4 separate regions of the Homo sapiens genome follow, and all the other regions are linked to region 1. Evidence: promoter capture Hi-C in human tissues and cell types (Jung and others, 2019). All regions are on one chromosome and are shown on one strand. Each heading gives the region's core, a stretch centred on a gene start or on the middle of the fragment in contact. The rest is flanking DNA. Distances are from core to core; before and after follow the strand shown.

Region 1 (5,689 bases), core at 1,558-4,057:
ACAGACGGGGTTTCACCATGTTAGCCAGGATGGTCTCGATCTCCTGACCTCGTGATCCGCCCACCTTGGCCTCCCAAAGTGCTGGGATTACAGGCGTGAGCCACCGTGCCCGGCCTTGTTTTCGTTTTTGAATTACCCATGTATTGTGTGCTTATTCATGTGATCCTCAAAACCACTCTATAAACTCCTACCTTCAGGATGTTTAGTGAGATTCAGTAACTGAGTCCCGATGACAGGAGAGCTTGAGCCCCCGGAAGGCAGGGATTGCTTTACTCATCTCTGAATCCCGGGACCCTACACAGCGATGGGTACGTAGCAAATCTTTACTAAAAATCTGTTGAATGAAGGTGTGAATGAATGACAGTTCCTCTGTGGAATTCAACTGGAAACTACCAGAACAGTGATTCTTAATTTATTCTTAAGGGGTGTGGGAATTGGGGGTGGGGGAGGGGCGGTGTTAAAGATCCCTCGAAAAGTAAAATAAAATGATGTGACTTAATTTTTCCCCAAGAAAGTATACCTATGCACGTAGGAAGCTCTACATTCAATTTCAGGGGACTCCTGGGACCCCTAAGGCCCATCCAAGAGTCTCTGCCACAAAAGGTCTTTGAGATGAGGGACTTCAGTGCTGAATTCCACTGGAGTCATTTGGGTTTGTTTCCAGGTGCAGGCATGGCAGCGTTCACCAGCCTTTTAGAGCTAAGCAGCCCCAACTGCCCATTATTTGTTCAACCCTTCTAATGTGAACAAAGGCCCCACTGCTAAGCCGGTCAGGAGGTGCTTTTTGATAAGACTTAATCACAGGGATGAAAGGGCCTATAGGGATTAAATGTCTAAGTGCTCACCCGTGGCCAGGCCAAATAAACAGGATCCAAAAGGGATTTGGCTTTTGAATACGGATGCATGAGATGTGGCCGAGTGGCCCATGCCTGCTCCATGACCACAGGAAAAAAACAAATCACAGTGTGTGAAAGCAGCTTCGTTGAAGGACATTATGCTAAGACATTCCAATTATAAGTGGGTTGATTTCAATTTTTTATTCCCAGAATTACTGTTTAACTGACTGATAGACATCAACCATATTTGGAGGCCAGGCACAGTGGTTCACACCTGTAATCCCAGCACTTCGGGAGGCCGAGGTGGGAGGATCGCTTGAACCCAGGAGTTCGAGATCAGCCTGGACAACATAGCGAGACACCACCTCTACAAAACATAAAAAAATAGCTGGATGTGATGGCACACTCCTATAGTCCCAGCTACTCAGGAGGCTGAGGTGGGAGGATAGCTTGAACCTGGGAGGTCAAGGCTGCAGTAAGCCATGATCACACCACTGCACTCAGCAGTGACAGTGAGACCCTGTCTCAAAAATCAAATCGAAACAAACCATATTTGGTATACATACTTATCCTACCCCTAAGTAGAATATCATAATAGGCATTTACTTTAGTAATGCTAAGACAACTACCATTTATGTTCTCTGGAATTATATGAAATAGCCATTTATATAGGTTAGAAATGGTCAAATATGGGCAATTCATGTGTATCAACCTAGGAGGACCTACATTTCCAGTGAATGCTTCTTGCTGAGTCCTAGCACAGGCTGGGCCCCTGGAGATCATTTAGGCTGGTTTGCTCTCTGATAGGTGGAATAACTATAGCCTAGAGGGCTTAAGTCACCTGTCCAAGATCACAAGCCTCTCAAGTTGGCCACAGTGCCTGGACTAGAACTCACATCACCCAAGCCAGTGTCCAGCACTGACTGTCCTAGCAGAGGTCACACATTCCAATAACTCACTGTTTTCATTGCTGTGACCAGTTGGCTCAACTGGGTACAAGACATAAGATCAAGACCATGATTTGAGCTTACACATGTCATTAGTTGTGCCCTGTCTCCAGGCTACAGAATGATCCCCTAATTCCAGCCATTCCTGTCATGAATGTGTGTTATTCATGACAACAGCAATCAGGACACTATTAGGAAAGTAACACTCATTTGACCCCAAAGTCCAGAGTTTTCTTTTCTTTCTTTTTTTTTTTTTTGAGATGGAGTCTCACTCTGTCGCCCAGGCTGGAGTGCAGTGGCGTGATCTCGGCTCACTGCAAGCTCCACCTCCCGGGTTCATGCCGTTCTCCTGCCTCAGCTTCCTGAGTAGCTGGGACTACAGGCGCCAGCCACCACGCCAGGCTAATTTTTTTTGTATTTTTAGTAGAGATGGGGTTTCACTATGTTGGCCAGGCTGGTCTCGATCTCCTGACCTCAGGTGATCCGCCTGCCTCAGCCTCTCAAAGTGCTGGGATTACAGGCGTGAGCCACCGCGCCCAGCCCCAAAGTTTTCTTTTCTTGAAACATGGTAGATCGCTCACATCACCTGGGCCTATAAAAGGCAGCAAAGTCTTTCATTTTTATATCAAGAAGAGAAAACAATATGATTACCTACGTTTACCATGAATCCTCCATTTTAAAAACTCTCAAAATTTTCATTCTAAGGCAATTAACAAAGAAATGAGTAAGGAAAACACAAGAAGGAAAGAAGGAAGAGTGGATGAGGAGCCAGGCCATGTACCAGGAAAATCATTCCTTTTATCATTTTCTGGAAAAGGCACATAGATAACTTTGTTACTTAATTCCTCAAAAAATAAAGAATGTGTGCTAAGACTTACCTATGCAGTGTGTGGGCAGGATGAAATTCCTTTCCAAAGCCAGGCTGTTCTGAACCTTCTTGCTGGCGTTAGCGAGCTCTCTTCTGGGTTGCACACAAGCCTCAGCCTGCTGGGCACCTTCACCTTACAACCATCTAAGCCCTTGCAACTGCAGTCTGCAATCCTATGCTTTTATGAACCCACATGTTTAATCTAATCGTATGTGGAAAGTTAAATACTAACTGGCAGTTGGAATTCACCTTGGTGCCTGATGGGGTGTGTGCCTCAGGGACTCTGGCTTTGGGCAGAGTGGCACAAGTTCCTGCTCTGGGACCCTTCCTGCCAGCTCCAGCCAGGGCAGGGCCTGGGTACAGTGAACATCTTTCCCCAGAAGAAGTCTTCCTCTTAGGGTAGGCTTGGGGGACAACAGCATTCCCTGCCAGAATACGTGGGAAGGGCTGGGTGGGGTGGCTCACGCCTGTAATCCCAGCACTTTGGGAGGCTGAGGCGGGCAGATCACCTGAGATCAGGAGTTCAAGACCAGCCTTGCCAACATGGTGAAACCCCGTCTCTACTTAAAAATGTAAAAATTAGCCAGGTGTGGTGGCACACACCTGTAGTCCCTGCTACTCTGGAGGCTGAGGCAGGAGAATCACTTGAATCCACAAGGCAGAAGTTACAGTGAGCTGAAATCATACCACGGCACTCCAGGCTGGGTGACAGAGTGAGACTCTGTCTCAATGAAAGAAGAAAGAAGAAGAGGAAGAGGAAGAGGAAGAAGGAAGAAGAAGGAAGAAGAAGGAAGAAGAAGGAAGAAGAAGGAAGAAGAAAGAAGAAGAAAGAAGAAGAAGACGATGTGGGAAGGACAGGGCCCCAGGGAGAGGAGCCAAGAACAGCCATCTCTGGGTGGTTGGTATGGGTTGAGGGGGTCAGTATAATTCCAGGCAAGTGCCGTGTTCTGAAGACGCTAAATAAGCTAGATTCTGGTAAATACTCCTCCACGGGACCACATCCAAATGAGTTTATAACAACATTGTTGTCTTGTAAAAGAGAAACGGGCTGCAAGGGTACTAAGGTACTACATGGAGGAGCTGGAAGTTAAGTCCAACAAAGAGGTTTTGAGGTTTTTGTTTGTTGTTGTTGTTTTGAAACAGAGTCTTACTCTGTCACCCAGGCTGGAGTGCAGTGGCGCAATCATAGCTCACTACAGCTTTGAACTCTTGGGCTTGAGGGATCCTCCTGCCTCAGCCTCCCAAGTAATGGGACTACAAGTGTGTACAAAGCCTGGTTAATTTTTATTTTTATTTTTGTAGAAATAGGGTCTTGCTGTGTTGCCCAGGCTGGTCTCAAACTCTTGGCCGCAAAGGATCCTCCAGCCTCAGTCTCCTAAGGCGGTGGGATTACAGGTGTGAGCCATGGTGCCTGGCCCCCAGCAAAGTATTTAAAGACCTAGCAAGAGCTAAACATACTCTATTTACCAAAAGATCCTTTTCTATCATGGTGGGGACCCTTGGAATTGGGAGAACTGAGTCTTTATATTGGCTATCATTTAGGAGTGCTTACCATGTGCTTTTATCGTATTAACCTCAGGTAATCATTGCCACAACCTGATGTGGAAGGTACTGTGAACTTAGCCAAGGGAATCAGGGCACAAGAGGTCTGATGACATGGAGGTGGAGCCATTTGGATTTGAATCCAATTTAAATGGCAGCCACGGAAGTTACACTCACTCACTCAAAATCACTTCAAGGTCATGTGGGTGGTCATTACTCTGTAACTTGTCTCATGGTTTTGTAAAAGGAAGGTTCACTTTGTTTTAAAATTGGAGTTTCACATTAAATGGTGCTCTGAACCATGTGGCTTGAAGCACACTGGGTGGCAAGAGGAAGATAGCTAAGATTTAACATGATCTACAAATTATTGCAGAGTTAACGTTATTAGGTGTATTTTAAAGAAATACGAGGATCTCTGTAACTCCGCAAAAGCTTCTCATTAACACCATTTGTCCTCATGGGTTGTCTTCACTGAACAAGATAGGCAAACTCAGCCAGGAGGAACACTTTGGTGGTGTAACTGTGTTCACCATGCCTCTGCAGAAATGGAAGCAAAACGTTCAAGTAAGAATTCCGCTAGGAGACGGTGCCACCTGCTGGTGGGAACAGGGAACTGAGGCCAATCTTCTAACTCAGCCCTTGCGGTTTAACTTCACTCTTGAATTCTGGCGCCGAGGAGAGGGGAATCAAAGCAGCGTGTTGTGCTTTGGTAATTAAAGGCAGAACTGGACGGCGATGTGTCATGGAGGCTGGCAAACCAGGTGAGCAAATTACTTACTGTCCCTGGTCTTTGGATTCTTCGTCTGTAAGATAGAGATAAGAGTTCCTGCTCATTTGGCTTGTTATAAAAGTTAAATGTGATCACAGATATATACAGCACTTAGCACAGAACCTGGCACGAGGTAGGATAGTAAAATCTATAAATTGAAATGCAGCAAAATTCATTTCTTGTTTTAATAAAAGCAAATGTAGAATGTTTTACCCATTCAATGAAAAACTAGGTGGGAAAAAACACTTTAAGAAAAAACTTTTAAACAGAAATCACCAGCCGGACATGGTGGCTCACGCCTGTAATCCCAGAACTTTGGGAGGCCGAGGCGGGTGGATCACCTGAACTCAGCAGTTCGGGACCAGCCTGGCCAAAATGGTGAAACCCAGTCTCTACTAAAAATACAAAAATTAGCCAGGCGTGGTGGCACACGTCCGTAATCCCAGCTACTTGGGAGGCTGAGGCAGGAGAATCGCTTGAACCGGGGAGGCGAAGGTTGCATTGAGCCGAGATGGTGCCACTGCACTCCAGCCTGGCCGACAGAGCGAGACTCTGTCTTAAACAAACAAACAAAACCCAGAAATCACCAAATAAGGTGGTAGAAAGATATCTGCTGTGGCATAAATGTTTGTGTCCCCCCAAAATTCATATAGTGAAATTCTAACTCCCCATGTGATATTACTAAAAGGTAGGGCTTTTGGGAGGTGGTTAGGCCAAGAGGATGGAG
Region 2 (5,591 bases), core at 1,000-3,499, 310 kb after region 1:
CATAACTTGTTCCACCCCCCCAAACCATAACTGGTTCCACTGCCACCAGCTAGCCAGCTTTGGGTCACCTCTGCCGATTCCTTCCATCTGCCCCCAAGACCACTGCTGTGCCCACCCCACAGGGCTCCCTCTCTGAGTGCTCTCCTCCTACTGTCTGGTTTCCAGCACTGCCCAGACCCTGCTGATGTCCAGACCTTCTTCCAGCCCAGACCTGTCTCCTGGCCCCAGGCCCAGGTTTTGGCTGATCATTAGACATTTCTACCTGGGTGTTCCAGGTGTCAGCTGAACCCAGTATCTTGCCTTTAGGCTGCGCCACCTCCAGTCTCATGTCCTGTGAATGGCCCCACCACATACCCAGGCCTTGTACCAGAAATCAGAAAACCTCCTAGAGGTGACCTTATTTCTTACTTCCATCCAGTAGGTCACCAAGGAGCTCTCAAATCCATTCCTTCCTTGCCACCCACCTCACTCCACAGCCCTCAAATGCACTCCCACACGCACTTGTTTACCTGCCTCACTGACCCGGGTCTTCCCTCTTCTACTCTCGGGCTCCCAGAGTGGTCCTTCTCAAACAGCATGTTGATCAGATCACATTTCTGTTTACGTAAAACTCTAACTGCCTCCTGGAACGAGGGGTACTGGGGGTAACATTCCAAATCCATTCATTCATTCACTCATTCAGGAAATATTTACTGAGGGCCTTCCATCTGACAGGCACCACACTAGCACTGGGAACCCACTGGAAAATAAAGCAGACATGGGTAAGTGATGTCCACTGATATCAGGGTCATCTACGAAGGGCTGCACCATGCACACCGAGATTGATCCCTCACCACATCCCAGCTGTATTCTCCACCGTTAAACTCACGACCCTGCAGCTCCCGAAGCATGGTGCTTCCCTACCCAGAACAAGTTGCTTCTCCAGCCCTATTTACGCTTCCCTATTCTTTCTTTGGATAATCACTATTTGTTCTTCCCAACTCAACTGTATTCTCAGCTCCTCTCGAAAGCTTTGCCAACACCCTTCCTCATCCCCCTTCAGATCTACCTGCCCTTCCCCTATGTCACCAGCACCTGTGTTTACCTCCATAATTGTATTGACCACACAGTGTAGTGACACTGTTTACTTGCTTATATTCCCTTTCCCACCCACTTCCTACACACACATACACACACACACACACATTTATGAGCCCCTTAAGATAAGGACCTGGGTGTTTTTATCACCGGTGCCTAAAAACGACTGGTATATGGTCTGTATTTGGTAAACAAACCATGTGAAGATAACACAGATCATTCTTACTTTTGAGTTAATAAAATATTTGTTGACTACATTTATTTATATAGTTCATTATAAATGCAGGTTAATGTCTTGGTCACCTTGGATACATTTAATAAACTTTTCAGAGTAGCATGAAGTTCACTGGGCCAGATTTTTATTGAATGCCAACTATGTGCCAGGCATCATTTTGGCACAGGGAATATGGCAGTGAAAAAATTAAAGTCCCTCTACTCTTAAGGCTTCTATTCTAGTGGGAAAAGGCTGACTGTAAACACATAAATAAGTGGAAATCTCAGAGAGTGATAAATGCTATGAAGAAAACATCATAACGGGAGGAGGAGGCATTCTTGGAGGTGGGAGAGCAGCCTCCACATTAGCTGGAGTGATTTGGGAAGCCCCTCTTTCTTTTTTTTTTTTTTTTTTTTGATATGGAGTCTCACTCTGTCACCCAGGCTGGAGTGCAGTGGCACGATCCCGGCTCACCACAACCTCTGCCTCCCGGGTTCAAGCAATTCTCCTGCCTCAGCCTCCCAAGTAGCTGGGATTACAGGTGCCTGCCACCACGCCCAGCTAATTTTTGCATTTTTTATTAGAAATGGGATTTCACCATCTGGGCCAGGCCAGTCTCGAATTCCTCACCCCAAGTGATCCCCTCACTTCGGCCTCCCAAAGTGCTCCTGACCTCAGGTGATCCGCCCACTTTGGCTTCCCAAAGTGCTGGGATTACAGGCTGGGATTACAGTGAGCCACTGCACCCGGCCTGGGCAGGCCCCCCTTAAGCCCAACTTCCTCATCAGTGAGTTGGGAATGATGACGGTACTGAGGTGCTTGGAGACTTAGGAGGATTACATGAGAAAATATGAATACAGCACCAACACTTAATAAAAATTGTCCTTATTGCAGGGTTTTTGTTCGGTTTTGTTTTGTTTTTGAGACAGAGTCTCGCCCTGTTGCCAGGCTGGAGTGCAGTGACATGATCTCGGCTCACTGCAACCTCCACCTTCCAGGTTCAAGTGATTCTCTTGCCTCAGCCTCCCAAGTAGCTGGGATTACAGGCGCGTGCCACCACGCCCAGCTAATTTTTTTGTATTTTTAGTAGAGAGGGGGTTTCACTGTGTTAGCAAGGATGGTCTCGATCTCCTGACCTCGTGATCCGCCCGCCTTGGCCTCCCAAAGTGCTGGGATTACAGGCGTGAGCCACCATGCCAGGCCTATTGCAGAGTTTTAAGCAAGGAAGAAAGATTATCTAATTTACACTCTTTTTTTTTTTTTTTTGAGACAGAGTCTTGCTCTGTTGCCCAGGCTGGAGTGCAGTGCCACAATCTTAGCTCACTGCAACCTCTGCCTCCTGGGTTCAAGCAGTTCTCCTGCCTGAGCTTCCTGAGTAGCTAGAATTGCAGGCACACACCACCACACCTGGCTAATTTTTTCTATTTTTAGTAGAGACAGGGTTTCACCATGTTGCCCAGGCTGGTCTCAAACTCCTGTCTCCAACTCCTGTCAAGCGCTTCACCCGCTAAGCCTCCCAAAGTGCTGGGATTATAGGCGTGAGCCACTGCGCCTGGCCCCTAATTTACACTCTTAAAGGAGCATGCCAACTGCAGATGGAGAATGAATGGTAGGGGTGGTAGGAGAGGGAGGCCACCCCCGGAGGCTGTGGCGATGGAAAGAAAGATGAAGCTTCTTTCTGTTTCTAGAAGCAGATCTAGTCAAGTATCAGAGATTTACTGACATGTGCCACTGGAAAGGCCAAGTTTAGAAGATAATCTCTTGGACACGAAGAGCACATTTGTGCCTGATGGAATGTGTGAAAACATGCCTGTATTTCCTGCCACACACATGTCCTGCATCAAGTTCTACCATGATCGTCACACCTGGGCCATCGTTCACATCTGCTTCTAAACGACTGGTACAACTGTGTGTCTCTCTTTCTACTGTGCCTGGGCTGTCTCCTTGGGGTTTCGTTTTCATCTCTAAGTCTATTAAATTACTCCTTAAGGTTTCATGAGTATTTCCCCTGCAGTTTCCCAGAGTCCTACAAGCTGCTCAGCCATTGTTATCTTTTGAGACTTTTAAAGCTTTGATTAACTTAATAAATAAAAACACAGTTCTTGAGACAGGGTCTCACTTTGTCACTCAGGCTGGAGTGTAGTGGTGCGATTTAGGCTCGCTGCAACCTCGACCTCCTGGGCTCAAGCAATCCTCCCACCTCAGTCCCCAACCAAGTAGCTGAAACTACAGGCAGGCACCACCATGCTCAGTTAATTTGTGTTTTATTTTTAGTAGAGATGGAGTTTTGCCATGCTGCCCAGGCTGGTCTTGAACTCCTGGACATAAGCAATCCGCCTGCTTTGGCCTCCCAAAGTGCTAAGATTACAGGCATGAGCCAATGCGCTCAGCCTAAACACATACAATTCTAAACACTCAGAAATGCACACAATTCTTATAAACATGATCTACCCAGCACCTGTTCATGGTGAAGATTTTGAATGTTATTGGAGCGAGGTTTTCATGTGATCATCAAATGTTGGCCCACTCGGTGGCTGGACTGAAACACGAAAACTCCCGAAAGCTCTGCCTTAGGAAACACAATAATATATATGTTTGTTGAATGAATGAGTGAATGAACAAATTCTTAAAATTTATGGCAACCCCAAAAGTGGAAGTAGGAAAGAAATGTTCAAGGAACATTCTAGATGAAGCTGCTCAATACCATCTCCATTGTGATCTTGGGGGGCCTGGCTCAAAATTCTAGGTTTGCTCATCTCTTCTTCCTTCCCTCCCCTCTTTCCTCTCTTCCTCCTTTCTTTCTTCTTCTTTTGTTTGTTTTTTTTATTTTTAGTTATACCAGTCATACGGATAGCCCTCTCAGCAAATACTCAGTCCCTTCTCTAGAAGTAATCACTGTTTTTAGACTGGATGTATGCCTCTGAAATTAATTCTATGTACTTCTATGCATGATGACTGTGCTGTATATGTAAACATGTATAGCATTGTTTTGATATACATGTATTGCATTGTGTGCATCATTCTGCAGACTGTTTTATTTTCTCAGTGGTAATGGTACAGCTTCAAAAACTCTCCAAATCTCTATGTATAAATCTACTTCATGTTTAAAGACTGATACTCAGCATTTCGTAATTTACTGTACTTAGTATATGTAACCATTCTGTTTTTTCTTTTTATAATTGTGTGTGCGCATATGTTTGTGTGTGTGTGTATGTCTGTGTGTGTGTGTGTGTATGTGTGTGTGTGTGTGTGTGTTAAAACAAATATAGAACAGGGAAAAAACAAAAATGTATCGCTCAATGGTTTATCCCAAAGTGAACATCCATATAACCCTATTCAAGAAATAAAATATTACCAGCATTCCAGAAACCTCCTCTGTATTCCAATCACCATACCATCCCTCTCTGATTAAAGTAGCCACTACCCTGATTTTTATGGAAGTCATTTCCCTGATTTTTTAAAAGACAGTTTTACCATCACAACTTGTATTCTTAAATATTAGAGTTTAGTTTTGCTTTTTGAATTTCATATAAATGGAATCTTTCAGTACACCTTCTTTTGTGCTTGGTTTCTTTCACTCAAAATCATTTTTGGAGATTTCTCCATGTTGCTCCATGCAGCCAAGGTTCATTTGTTTTCGTGGAGTTTCTACCTTGTTGCCCAGGCTGGAGTGCAATGGCGCAATCTTGGCTCACCGCAACCTCCGCCTCCTGGGTTCAAGTGATTCTCCTGCCTCAGCCTCCCGAGTAGCTGGGACTACAGGCATGTGCCACCACGGCCAGGTAATTTTGTATTTTTTTAGTAGAGACGGAATTTCTCCATGTTGGTCAGGCTGGTCTCAAACTCCTGCCCTCAGGTGATCCGCCTGCCTCGGCCTCCCAAAGTACTGGGTGTGAGCCAGCTACTGTATTTTATTCAGTAAATACACCACAATTTATTTATCCATCCTACTGTTAAGGACAATTGGGCTGAGTAAATTCTGAGGCTGTTGGGAGCAGCTCTGCTTTAACTGTTCTTGTCCGTTTCTTGGTGCCCACGTGCATGCATTTCTATTGGGCACATATCTAGGAGTGGAATTGTTGGGTCATAATATACGCATATCTTCTACTTTAATAGAGAATGCTAAACTGTTTTCTCAAAGTGGCTATGTCAATTTATTCTCTTACCAGCCATGTATGAGAATTCCCTTTGCTTTACATCCTCACCAACAGTTATTATTATCAGTCTTTTTAGTTGTAACCATTATGATGGATGCATAGTTGAATCTCATTGAAACTATAAGTTCTCTGATTTCTGATTT
Region 3 (5,056 bases), core at 736-3,235, 270 kb after region 1:
CGATGACTTGGTCAGCACACCAGTACCATACTGAAGCTGGGGTCTGCCCAAGAATGAATCCAGGCCAAGGAACATCTTCATCTGTTGGATTCCGCAGCATTTTCAGGGCTTCTTTCTTAGGGGAGACATTACAAGAATTTGTGTTGGAAAGGTTGTATGTCAATAAGATGGAAGTGACATCGGGTGAGGCCAACATGTACCTTCTCTTAACTTCCTCAAACCCGCCAATCTCCATTATGCTAATAATCATAAGTGTAAGTGCCCCAATGATCATGAGCAGAGCCTGCAGAGTGTCTGTGTAGATCACTGCAACAAGGCCTCCGGTGACAGTCAGCAAAGCAGTCATGCCAATGAGCAGGATGACAGACACATAAAGATTCCAACCCAAAGACTCCTGGATAAAAAGGGCACCCGAATACAGATCCACCGAGAGCTTGGTGAAAATATAGAGAATCAGAGACAAGGCTGCAAAATAGACCTGAATCCTATGGCCACCAAATCGCTTGGACAAGTATTCAGGCATGGTATATACCCCTGACCGGATGTAAATTGGGATGAAAACCCATCCCAGAAGTTGTAAAAGCAGTAAGGCATTGAATTCCCATGCGCCCACTGCAAATCCACTTGCAGCTCCAGATCCTGCCAGCCCAATGAAGTGCTCACTCCCAATATTGCTCACAAACAGAGAGGCACCAATTGCTACCCAGGTCATAGAGCGCCCCGCCAGGAAGTATCCACTCACGGTGCTTCTATTAGATTTCCACATGGCAAAAAAACCAATGCACATGACCAGGATAAAATACAGGGCCACTATGGCAATGTCTGCTGTGTCCAGTACAGCTCTCATTCTGGTAACTTGTGAATAATAGCGCTCCAATGACAGAAGTGTCCAACTTTTTATTTATTTTTAGTAACCCCAGCCAAGTCTGTAAACCATACGTGAACTGGACTACACAGAGCAACACAGCAGGGTCAAAGTCTTTGTCCTTTGGTTTGCTGTCTTGATGGTGGTGGTTGTGATAAACTTTGAAGAAGACAGTTTAAATTTTCCGCTTCTTAATTGGGATTGAGAACTTAGCTCGTACTCTTAATCCACTCTCCACAAGACCATCAGCATTTACTCAGGTGCTGGAGGAGAAATTCTGAGTTGCAGCTAAGTCTAGTGAAGCCTACTGTACCAACCCTGCAAGGCAGCAGAGACAAAAGACAAAGATTGAAGTAGAGGAGGTCTCGCCACGTGATGAGGAAACTTTCAGTCTAGCAAACCCGGCGCAACGAGACATTCTTTATTGGAAGAAAAAAAATTTTTTTAATACACTTCAGTTCCACAGGAAAGAGCAATCTATATGATCACAGCTGATACTTTTGTCAGTGAGAATATTATCATTTTGAGCTGAGGACAGAAATTCATCTACCTCATAACTAAGTGGCCTAACTTCAGCAGCTAACTGCCTACCACAGCATTGCCCTTTCTTGTCTTACTGTGGTATGCTCAGATTAGGACAGGCACTAAGATCTTAAAGCACCCTAAAGGGGAGAAAACACTAATTATATTCGTAATAAGGGCACAAAAATGAAATCTTAAAATACTATGAATCCTAAGAGAGTTTGGGGGTAACTTTATGGCCAGTTAGGGTCCTGGATGGAACAGGCAGGTGGTGTTTACTAGATGTTATCATCTACCCTCAGAAAATTTAAATACAGAAAACCAAGTACTGCCTAGTCTCTGGAAATGTATTGTTATAAAGCTTCTTAAACTCCAGTAAATGGATATAGTTGTCATACAGTAACCTAGATCTTGTGAGACGCCCCCTGCCCTAATGGGAAACACGACATTCCACACAAAACTAAAAATATCCAACTTACAAAACAACTCAAAAATTGTATTATTTCTGCCAGTTAGAAGATGCTGCAAGAAGATAAAAAGCAAACTTTAAAAGAAGCAATTTCCTTCTCTTCCTTTTCATCAGGCAGTATTTCCAAAACAACCTCTGAGAGGATAACGGCACTGACTAAAGGCGTGATTTTATGTTTTCCTTTTAATGCTTTTTGTTGAAGGGTATAAGAAGCAGAGAAAAGAGGGAGGAGGAGAAAAGTTTTCAGAAGACTAAAAAATGATTTATTATTATGTCCGCCAAACCTCAACAAAACAGACATTTGTGGACCATTAGATAAATCTTCAGTAGGACCATCAGGAATTTTTCAGTTCTGGATTAAGATAATCACTCTGCAAAACAGACATTTAAATATACCTAAAATTAAATGTATTAAAATTTGACGGCTTCTCTCCTGAAAAAGAGACAAATACTAAATTTTCAGTTAATTGTAATTGCAGCTGACAGATCAATACGAACAACAATTTTATTCAACCTAATGCCTTCCACACATTAACTTCTAAATGATTTCTCCTTTTCCAATAAGGCAACCTCAGAGAAGAATGTTTTTCCATGCTTTTTCTGATGATTCTAGGCATTTTCCTTTTAAGTCCTATAAATTATACTAAAGCTACCTCTTCTCAAAACCGTTCAAAACAGACCACAGTATTAGAAACTTTACAACACACTTCTCACTGACAAAAGGAGCTAAACATAATGCCTAGAGACTACTGCCCTACAAAATTAGGTTCTTAGGTCTAATGCAGAAAAAACTGCCTGGATAGAAATGTCTCAATCCCATCTGCGTGCCTTTTTAAAGCATTAAGCAATACAATAATTATGCTATGAAAAGTGATTTAAATCCTTTCTAAGTGTCAACGGCTGGCATAAATAAGATTGATTGCCAGAGAAAAGCAAAAAAAAAAAAAAAAATCTTAAAAGTTGAGGTTTGTATCACTTCATACCTGCCAAATCCTGAAGATGATCATATTTCTATGACCACCTTCCCCACCCCCAAAAGCTTCCAAGTTTTTAAACAAATGCTTTGACATTATGTAGGACGAATCATCTAAATTTTTAATAAAATCTAATCAGATGACTAGTAAACATTATTTAAAAAGGTATCGTTAAATGTTTCTGCATAAGGGAAGCTTGTCAATTACAATGAAAACTGCTGTGTCAATTACAATGAAAACTGCTGTTCGCAGTTATGAAACCCTGCCTCCAGGGCTCTCTGCTACCCAACAGCCATCCAAGTCATCCTCAGGCCACTTGTTTCAATTTTCAGAAGGCTACCTGGCTAATCAGGTATCACTCTTCCCAATGGCAGTAGCAACCACGTGCTTTCCAAAGAAGGGAGAGAAAAACACAGTGGGTATTTCTGGTTTCATCTGGCCGTTGGGGGGGAAATAGGGTGGGTTATGTGTCATAGTAGCTGCTGCAGCTTATTTGTTCAGAGAACAAAGTGCTGAAAAAGAAAACAAGCACTTCCTCAATCACTGGGAAGCACTGTTACTATCAGTAACATTGTTCTTCATTGTCAAATCTGATTTATGCAAGGTAAATATAGAAGCTATATTCTGCTGCCTGATGAATGCTCAAACTGCATGAAGTTCTCATGCTAGCCCTAACTCCTAACTTCTCTAGTAAAGTCGCTCTGCCCACAGGAGAGGTACCAAATAGTACCCTAACACTAGCTCAAGGCTGAATTCTCAACTCTCCGCCTAGGCTTCCTCATATCCTTCAAAGCCACTGCGGACAGTTCCCTTCTCACTGGATACCATACCACTCTGTGGGTCGTGTCTAGATTTTTCCAACTTAAACAAAACACATGCAGAGACCAGCACCTGGTAAAGACTGGAAAAGGAAAAACAAAACCAAAAACAGGTCAATTTGGTTTGTAGAAATATATAAAATACTATAATGCAATGCAGCTATATTTTACACTCTAGTCACAGTCACAGCCTTGAATTTCAGTCTTTCAAGAGATAAACTACATTCCTTAAAAATGGTTCTGAATATACAGTATGTTATATATATATATATGTTTTTCTTCCTTTTAAAGAAGTTAACATTTCTTCAACAAAATACAATGAGCACTGTCCAGGGTTCCCTTATTTTTATAAGAATACACATGGAAGAATCTTCAGCTAACATGAGGCTTTTTAACTTGTATTTTTATATTTATATATGCTTTTTGTCACAGTTCATCATTCACGCAAACCTCTCAAGTAAAATTATAAGACAATAAAATAGGTATAGTTATGAAAAGCATGTAGGTGGGTTCCTTGGTAGTCCATTTTTTTCTTAAAAAGCTTCTGTAATGGGAGTAATACTTGTAGAATGCAAAAAGAAACAGTCCCCTAGTGGTGATGAGCAGATTTAGCCAAACCTTGAACACAAAGGTGCTTTGAAACAGAGCAGATTCCCCTTCTTCCCAAAAGAGAAGGCATCCTTCTCAGAAAGTAGTATTTTATTGTTTTGCACAGAATTAGAATGCAGTTTTGGTTCTATTCCACGCATCTGGATAAATTAAATTGCAACTGAAGAATTAATCCAAATAGAGAAGTGTAAATATAAATATTTGCTGCATTTGACCAAATAGAAAGAGAAAAAAAGGTAAGACCAAATTTAAATAAGCACTCCTTCAGGTGATATAACCATGTTAACCAAAATGTAATTAGTTATCATGACCAGATCTCTCTAGTACTGTCTGGGTGACCATATAATTTATCTTCCAAACCAGAAACTTATTCTGGAACTATATGTAAACAGCAGGATATATGGGCACTCTATCAAAAAAATAATAAAATAAAAAACCACCTGCCACTAAAACCAAACAAGGAACAAGAAAAATTATCTCCTATACTCAGGGCTTCAAGTCATAAGTTCAATGACACAGGGCGGGGCCTGCAAAGAGTAGTACGCAATAATCTTAAACGTGACCAAACAACCACCTCTTTTAGCTTTGGAGTCAATTTACAAACCACACACTCAAGGTACAATCTGAGACGCCTAGTCCAGCACTCTGTCAATGGTAAGCTTGATGAGCCCTGCTCATCCTCTGATCCAAATGAAAAATATTCACTTAGCCAGCTAATAATTGAAGGGTTATAGAACACACAGACACCTCTGAAAACTAATTACCTGAATTACAATCACTTTTGTGTAACCTACCAAAA
Region 4 (5,128 bases), core at 499-2,998, 360 kb after region 1:
AAATTCTTAGCTCTAGTTCCCACGTATTTGGTAGGTGGTTTGGTCAGAAATTTGTAATTGAAACACGTCCCCTGATTCTGATGTAGGAGGGTCTCCAGACCATGCTTTGAAAAATGCTGGATGACACACTACTCAGGAGAAGACAGAGCCCCAACCCTAATATATAATATATTTTTACCTTAAAGCAAATGTCATTTTTAATTGGACAGGTGCCACCAGTTCTACAGTAGTTGGGTTCACTGCTTGAGGGCAGACATCCTACCACAGGGAAAAAATGTTTCTTTTTGTTCGTTTGTTCATTTGTTTTTGTTTTTGAGATGGAGTCTTGCTCTGTTGCCGAGGCTGGGGTGCAGTGGTTCGATCTTGGCTCACTGCAGCCAAGATCGGATCAATTGATTCCCCTGCCTTAGCCTCCTGAGTAGCTGAGATTACAGGTGCCCACCACCACACTCACTGCAACCTCCGCCTCCCGGGTTCAAGCAATTCTCCTGCCTCAGCCTCCCGAGTAGCTGGGATTACAGGTGATGCCTGGCGAATTTTTGTATTTGTGGGTAGAGATGGGAGTTTCACCATGTTGGCCAGGCTGGTCTCGAACTCCTGACCTCAGGTGATCCACCCGCCTCAGCCTCCCAAAGTGCTGAGATTACAGGCGTAAGCCACCATGCCCAGCCAAAAAAATGTTTCTTCTTTGGTCAATACACAGAAGCCCCTCAATACCTCTGCTTGTGTTAAACTCTTGGGGGACATCTGAAGCACATCTTGCACTTTTATTCCGGGTGCTCTTTTCCAAGGAGGGAAAGGTCATTTGAAGAACAAATCACTCGCCTGTCTCAGCCAGGGTCCCTGAGGAGATCCAGCCAGTGTTTTTCAGAGCCTGGCACTCTGCCCAGGGCTTAGAGGCACCTTTTGACTTGGTGCTCTGGACAAGATTTGACAATCTGGGCCAAATCTGGAATGGGTTTCCGAAAGCCAATATTGGAGCACTTGCGATTGAGACCTGCCAAATAATGTGTCAGGAATGTCCAGTTCCTTTCCCATGCAGAGTGGCAGTGTTTAATGAAAAAACACAGCTCCGAAAAATGAGATGTTTTGTGCATTATCCATATTCATTAAAACTGGAACCCAACCCCAGAAAATACAGATGCCTTCTGTCATCAACACCTCACCTTTTTTCCTGTGGTTACTTAATACAAATGTCACAGAAGCTATTCTATAAGGACATGTCACGTGGCAGCATCTGCAGGCCAGTGTCCCTTTTCTTCTTGTCCAGCCTGATGCTAGGCAGTGGGAGGGGAGGTATGGGGGTGGTGAATTAAACAAAATCTTTAAAAACAAGACTCTGGCTCTGACTTCCACTGCACAGATTACCAAGCGGATAGGCATTTTATTTTGCTAAATGAAAGGGCTAGTTTATATCTTCCCTGGATCATTTTCTAACCTAACTGCAGTGGAAACATTCTCAGAAAGAAAGGCTTTCTTGTTTGTTTGCCCTTTATATAGCCGCTGGTCATCCCACTTGGAGAATTTGGGCAGTAACCTGCTGCTTCTGCTTGGGGCCAGGCCAGCTAGCAAACTCTTCTATGAGTTGGCCAACACAGCGTTTTGTCAGATGATCACAGCCAGCTCAGAAGCCCTCAGTGGCACCATGTTGAAAGGTAGACCACATTTCAAGCCCATCTTTGGTGGATGGAAATGGCTCATCTCACTGGCTCCTCTAGGCAGGGAACCACATCTGACCCAAATTGTCTACATTCCACAGACTGGTCTTTTTGTATGTTTGGGGTTTTGTTCTTTCTGTCAAGCATATAGCAGGAATTTTCCTCTGGAAGGAAGCCATGAAAAGATGGCTTCCCCAAAACGGTAGGAAATCCCTGTAGGATGGTTAATTTTAATGTGTCAACTTGACTGGGCTAAGGGATGCCCAGATAGCTGGTAAAAGATTATTCCTGGGTGTGTCTATGAGGGTGTTTCTGGAAAAGATGAGCGTTTGAATTGGTCGGCTGAGCAAAGAAGAGAGCCCTCAGCAGTGTGTGTAGGCCTCATCCCATCCATTGAGGGCCTGAATAGAACACAATGGCAGAGGAAGGGTGAATTTGTTTTCTCATCTTCAACTGGGACATTCATTTTTTCCTGCCCTTGAACTTTGGAGCTCCTGGTTCTCGAGCCTTTAGAGTCTGGAACTGACGCCAGTATCCTCCCACCACCTCCATTCCCAGGACTGAATTACACCACCAGCTTTCCTGGGTCTCCAGCTTTCAGATGGTAGATCAGATTGTGGGACTTCTCAGCCTCCATAATAATGTGAGCCAATTCTGGCGATGGATTGACTGACTGATTGACAGACAGAGAGACAGATAGATAGAGAATGGATAGACAGATAAATAGTTGATGGATGACAGATGATAGATTGATAGTTAATAAATAGATGATTAATAGATAAATAGATGATAGATAGATAATAGATGGCAAACAAATAGTTGATAGATGAGAGATGATAGTTGATAAATAGATGATGAATAGATAGATAGATGATAGATTAGATGATAGATAGATAGATAGATAGATAGATAGATAGATGATAGATAGATAGATGATAGATAGATAGATAGATAGATAGGAGAGAGAGAGAGAGATGACAGGCAGATAGATCCTATTAGTTCTGTTTCTCTGGAAACCCCTGATTAATACACCCTGCAACTGGTCCCTAGTAAGATCTTCTCTTGCAACCAAACCCCACAGTTTGCTTCTCACAAAATAAAGATAAGGCGATGGGGCTTAGCCAGCGTCCGCCTCTCCTGAGATCTGACAAAGCCCGAGCGCTAATTTTCCCCCTTTCCTCACTTTCTCCTTCCTCCCCTGGCTGCCATTTTGTGGCAGAAGCAGACCTACACTGCAAAGCATTTGAATCTCAGTTCTTCTTCTAAACCAGTTAGCAAGTTTCTAAGCCATTCTGGGCCTCCTTTCCTCAGTTGATGAAACAGTCATGGAGAATACTTCAAAGCATTTAGGGGTGAATTCAGTGAGACGAAGAACAAGAAGGGACCTGAAAGGATGGCAGCTCTCCCTTTTGGTTGTGTCTTTTTTCTTTGACAAGGGGAATCACTCGGGGATGGGAAGGAAGCGGCGTTGCTCACATGGAACTCAGAAAATCTCTTCATTAGTGAAATTTGAGGCTGTTCTCATTCTAGCCACAGCTGTAGTGATGCTGAAGTCATTTGTCTCAGAGGTCTGCCTCTCCCACTCTGAGCGCTGCACAGCCCTTCCAGGCAGTGGCTTTCAGGACAAAGACGATGAAACCATTTTCTGCGTAGTGAAACACAGACATGGTTCTCCCTTAAGTGATCTAATCTCACAGGGACATTCTTTATGTACATTTTGAATGTAAATGAAAAGTAACCTTTAAAATCATCATGTTAGGGTTTCACAGATGGGACTTTAAGCAGTCCATGATACCCCTGGGAACTGCATGAGTGTTCGTGGGTCTTGGTTATATAGTAAACTTCCAAAGACAGCCTCTACAGATGCATTGTTCAGTCAATACATAATGTGAGCCACATAGTTCATTTAAAGTTCTCTGGTAGCCACATTTAAAAATTAACAAAATTAGGCTAGGCCTGCTGTAATCCCAACATTCTGGGAGGCCGAGGTGGGAGGATCGCTTGAGCCCAGAAATTCAAGACCAGCCTGGGCAACATGGCGAAACTCCATCTCTCCAAAAAAATACACACAAAAAATAAACTTAGCCGGGTTCGGTTGCACACACCTGTGGTCCCAGCTACCTAGGAGGCTTAGGTGGGAGGATCTCTTCAGCTCAGGAGGTTGAGGTTGCAGTGAGCCAGGATCACGCCACTGCACTTCAGCCTAGGCCACAGAGTAAGACCTAGTCTCCAAAAAAAAAAATTACTTTAAGTAATATATTCAATTTAACCCAAAAGATCAAAAATATATTCAATATAAGAGATTTACTTTTTTTTTTTTTTTTTTTTTACTAAATTCACAGTTTAGTGTGTATTTTACCCTCACAGCACATCTCAATTCCAGTTAGCCCCATTTCGGCTGCATGTGGCTAGTGGCTACTATGACAAAGAGTGCACGTTTATAGCTTTTGTCAGCTTTTGATAACAAGTAGCATCATGACATTATAGAGGATAGTGAGAGATCATAGTACCAATAACAGTTCAAAAGTCTCCTTAGGAGCTCACAAAAAGCTTTCAGGTAGATTATCTCACTGTATTCTCATTTTTAAAAACTCACAAAGTGGACATGGCAGATGTCATTTCCTCATATGAGAACTGAAAAAAACTAAAGCTTAAAAAAAGTAAATAGGCCAGGTGCAGTGGCTCACACCTGTAATCCCAGGACTTTGGGAGCCCGAGGTGGGAGGATCTCTTGAGCTCAGGAGTTGGAGACCAGCCTGGGCAACATAGCAAGACCTCATCGCTACTAAAAATAAAAATTAAAAAATCAGCTGGGCGTGGTCTTCACACCTATAGTCCCAGATACTCAGGAGGCTGAGGTGAGAGGATTGTATGAGCTCAGGAGTTCGAGACCAGCCTGGGCAACATAAGAGACTCCTTCCTGTCTTTATAACAAATTAAAAAATTAGCCAGGCCTGGTGGTGTCCAGTTGTAGTCCCAGCTACATGGGAGGCTGAGGTGGGAGGGTCACTCGAGCCCGGGAATTCAAGACTGCAATGAGCTGTGATCACACCACTGCACTCCAGCCTGGGCAACAGAGTAAGACCTTGTCTCAAATAAATAAATAAATAATTGGCCTCGAGTCAAACAGCTGGAAGTTGAAGGGCCAGAAACGTCAACTGGGCCTTCGGACTCCAAATCCCCAGTTCTAGCTAGGAAAGGGATGGTCACATCCCACTGTCATCACAATGCTGTGGAAGTGGCCCTTTTTTATATCTTCTGCCAGGTAGTAAGGCCCAAGAGGGCAGGAATTGATCTACATTTTGTTCATTGCTGCATTCCCGGCACCTGACAGTGCCTGGCACAGAGCAGGCACACGATTCCTCCTTGATGAATTAAATTCAACTGAATGAGAAGAATGGGACACAGCAGACACCCCCATAATCAGAATCCAAGTCACTCCATCTCCAGGACCTTTTGGTTAAGCCAAA

Evidence for each region. The method cuts DNA at HindIII sites, captures the fragments that hold promoters and counts their contacts. A contact is called where the count stands out against the background at its distance.
Region 2: a fragment that was not itself captured here is called in contact with the fragment with the promoter of KCNE2 in region 1 in 3 of the 25 tissues and cell types used here (adrenal gland, aorta and dorsolateral prefrontal cortex).
Region 3: a fragment that was not itself captured here is called in contact with the fragment with the promoter of KCNE2 in region 1 in 2 of the 25 tissues and cell types used here (dorsolateral prefrontal cortex and mesenchymal stem cells).
Region 4: a contact is called between a fragment that was not itself captured here and the fragment with the promoter of KCNE2 in region 1, in 1 of the 25 tissues and cell types used here (IMR-90 fibroblasts).

What each region holds. Positions count from the first base shown.
Region 1 is chr21:34,361,124-34,366,812 of GRCh38, reverse strand. It overlaps KCNE2 (potassium voltage-gated channel subfamily E regulatory subunit 2), which reads right to left and starts at 2,807. Exons shown (of 2, transcript NM_172201.2): 1 at 2,662-2,807. The region is part of intron 2 of LOC105372791 (a long non-coding RNA gene); the gene reads left to right. The HindIII fragment of the contact is 19,800 bases long and covers 1-5,689 here.
Region 2 is chr21:34,049,980-34,055,570 of GRCh38, reverse strand. It overlaps LOC105372790 (a long non-coding RNA gene), which reads right to left. Exons shown (of 4, transcript XR_937681.3): 4 at 3,623-3,860. Among named protein-coding and RNA genes, the nearest start is that of MRPS6, 21 kb to the left of the region's middle. The HindIII fragment of the contact is 5,440 bases long and covers 1-4,969 here.
Region 3 is chr21:34,090,990-34,096,045 of GRCh38, reverse strand. All of the region lies in intron 1 of MRPS6 (mitochondrial ribosomal protein S6), which reads right to left. It overlaps SLC5A3 (solute carrier family 5 member 3), which reads right to left. Exons shown (of 2, transcript NM_006933.7): 2 at 1-1,183. The coding sequence starts at 847. Among named protein-coding and RNA genes, the nearest start is that of SLC5A3, 20 kb to the right of the region's middle. The HindIII fragment of the contact is 6,027 bases long and covers 1-4,998 here.
Region 4 is chr21:34,000,986-34,006,113 of GRCh38, reverse strand. All of the region lies in intron 2 of LOC105372790 (a long non-coding RNA gene), which reads right to left. Among named protein-coding and RNA genes, the nearest start is that of MRPS6, 70 kb to the left of the region's middle. The HindIII fragment of the contact is 8,275 bases long and covers 1-5,128 here.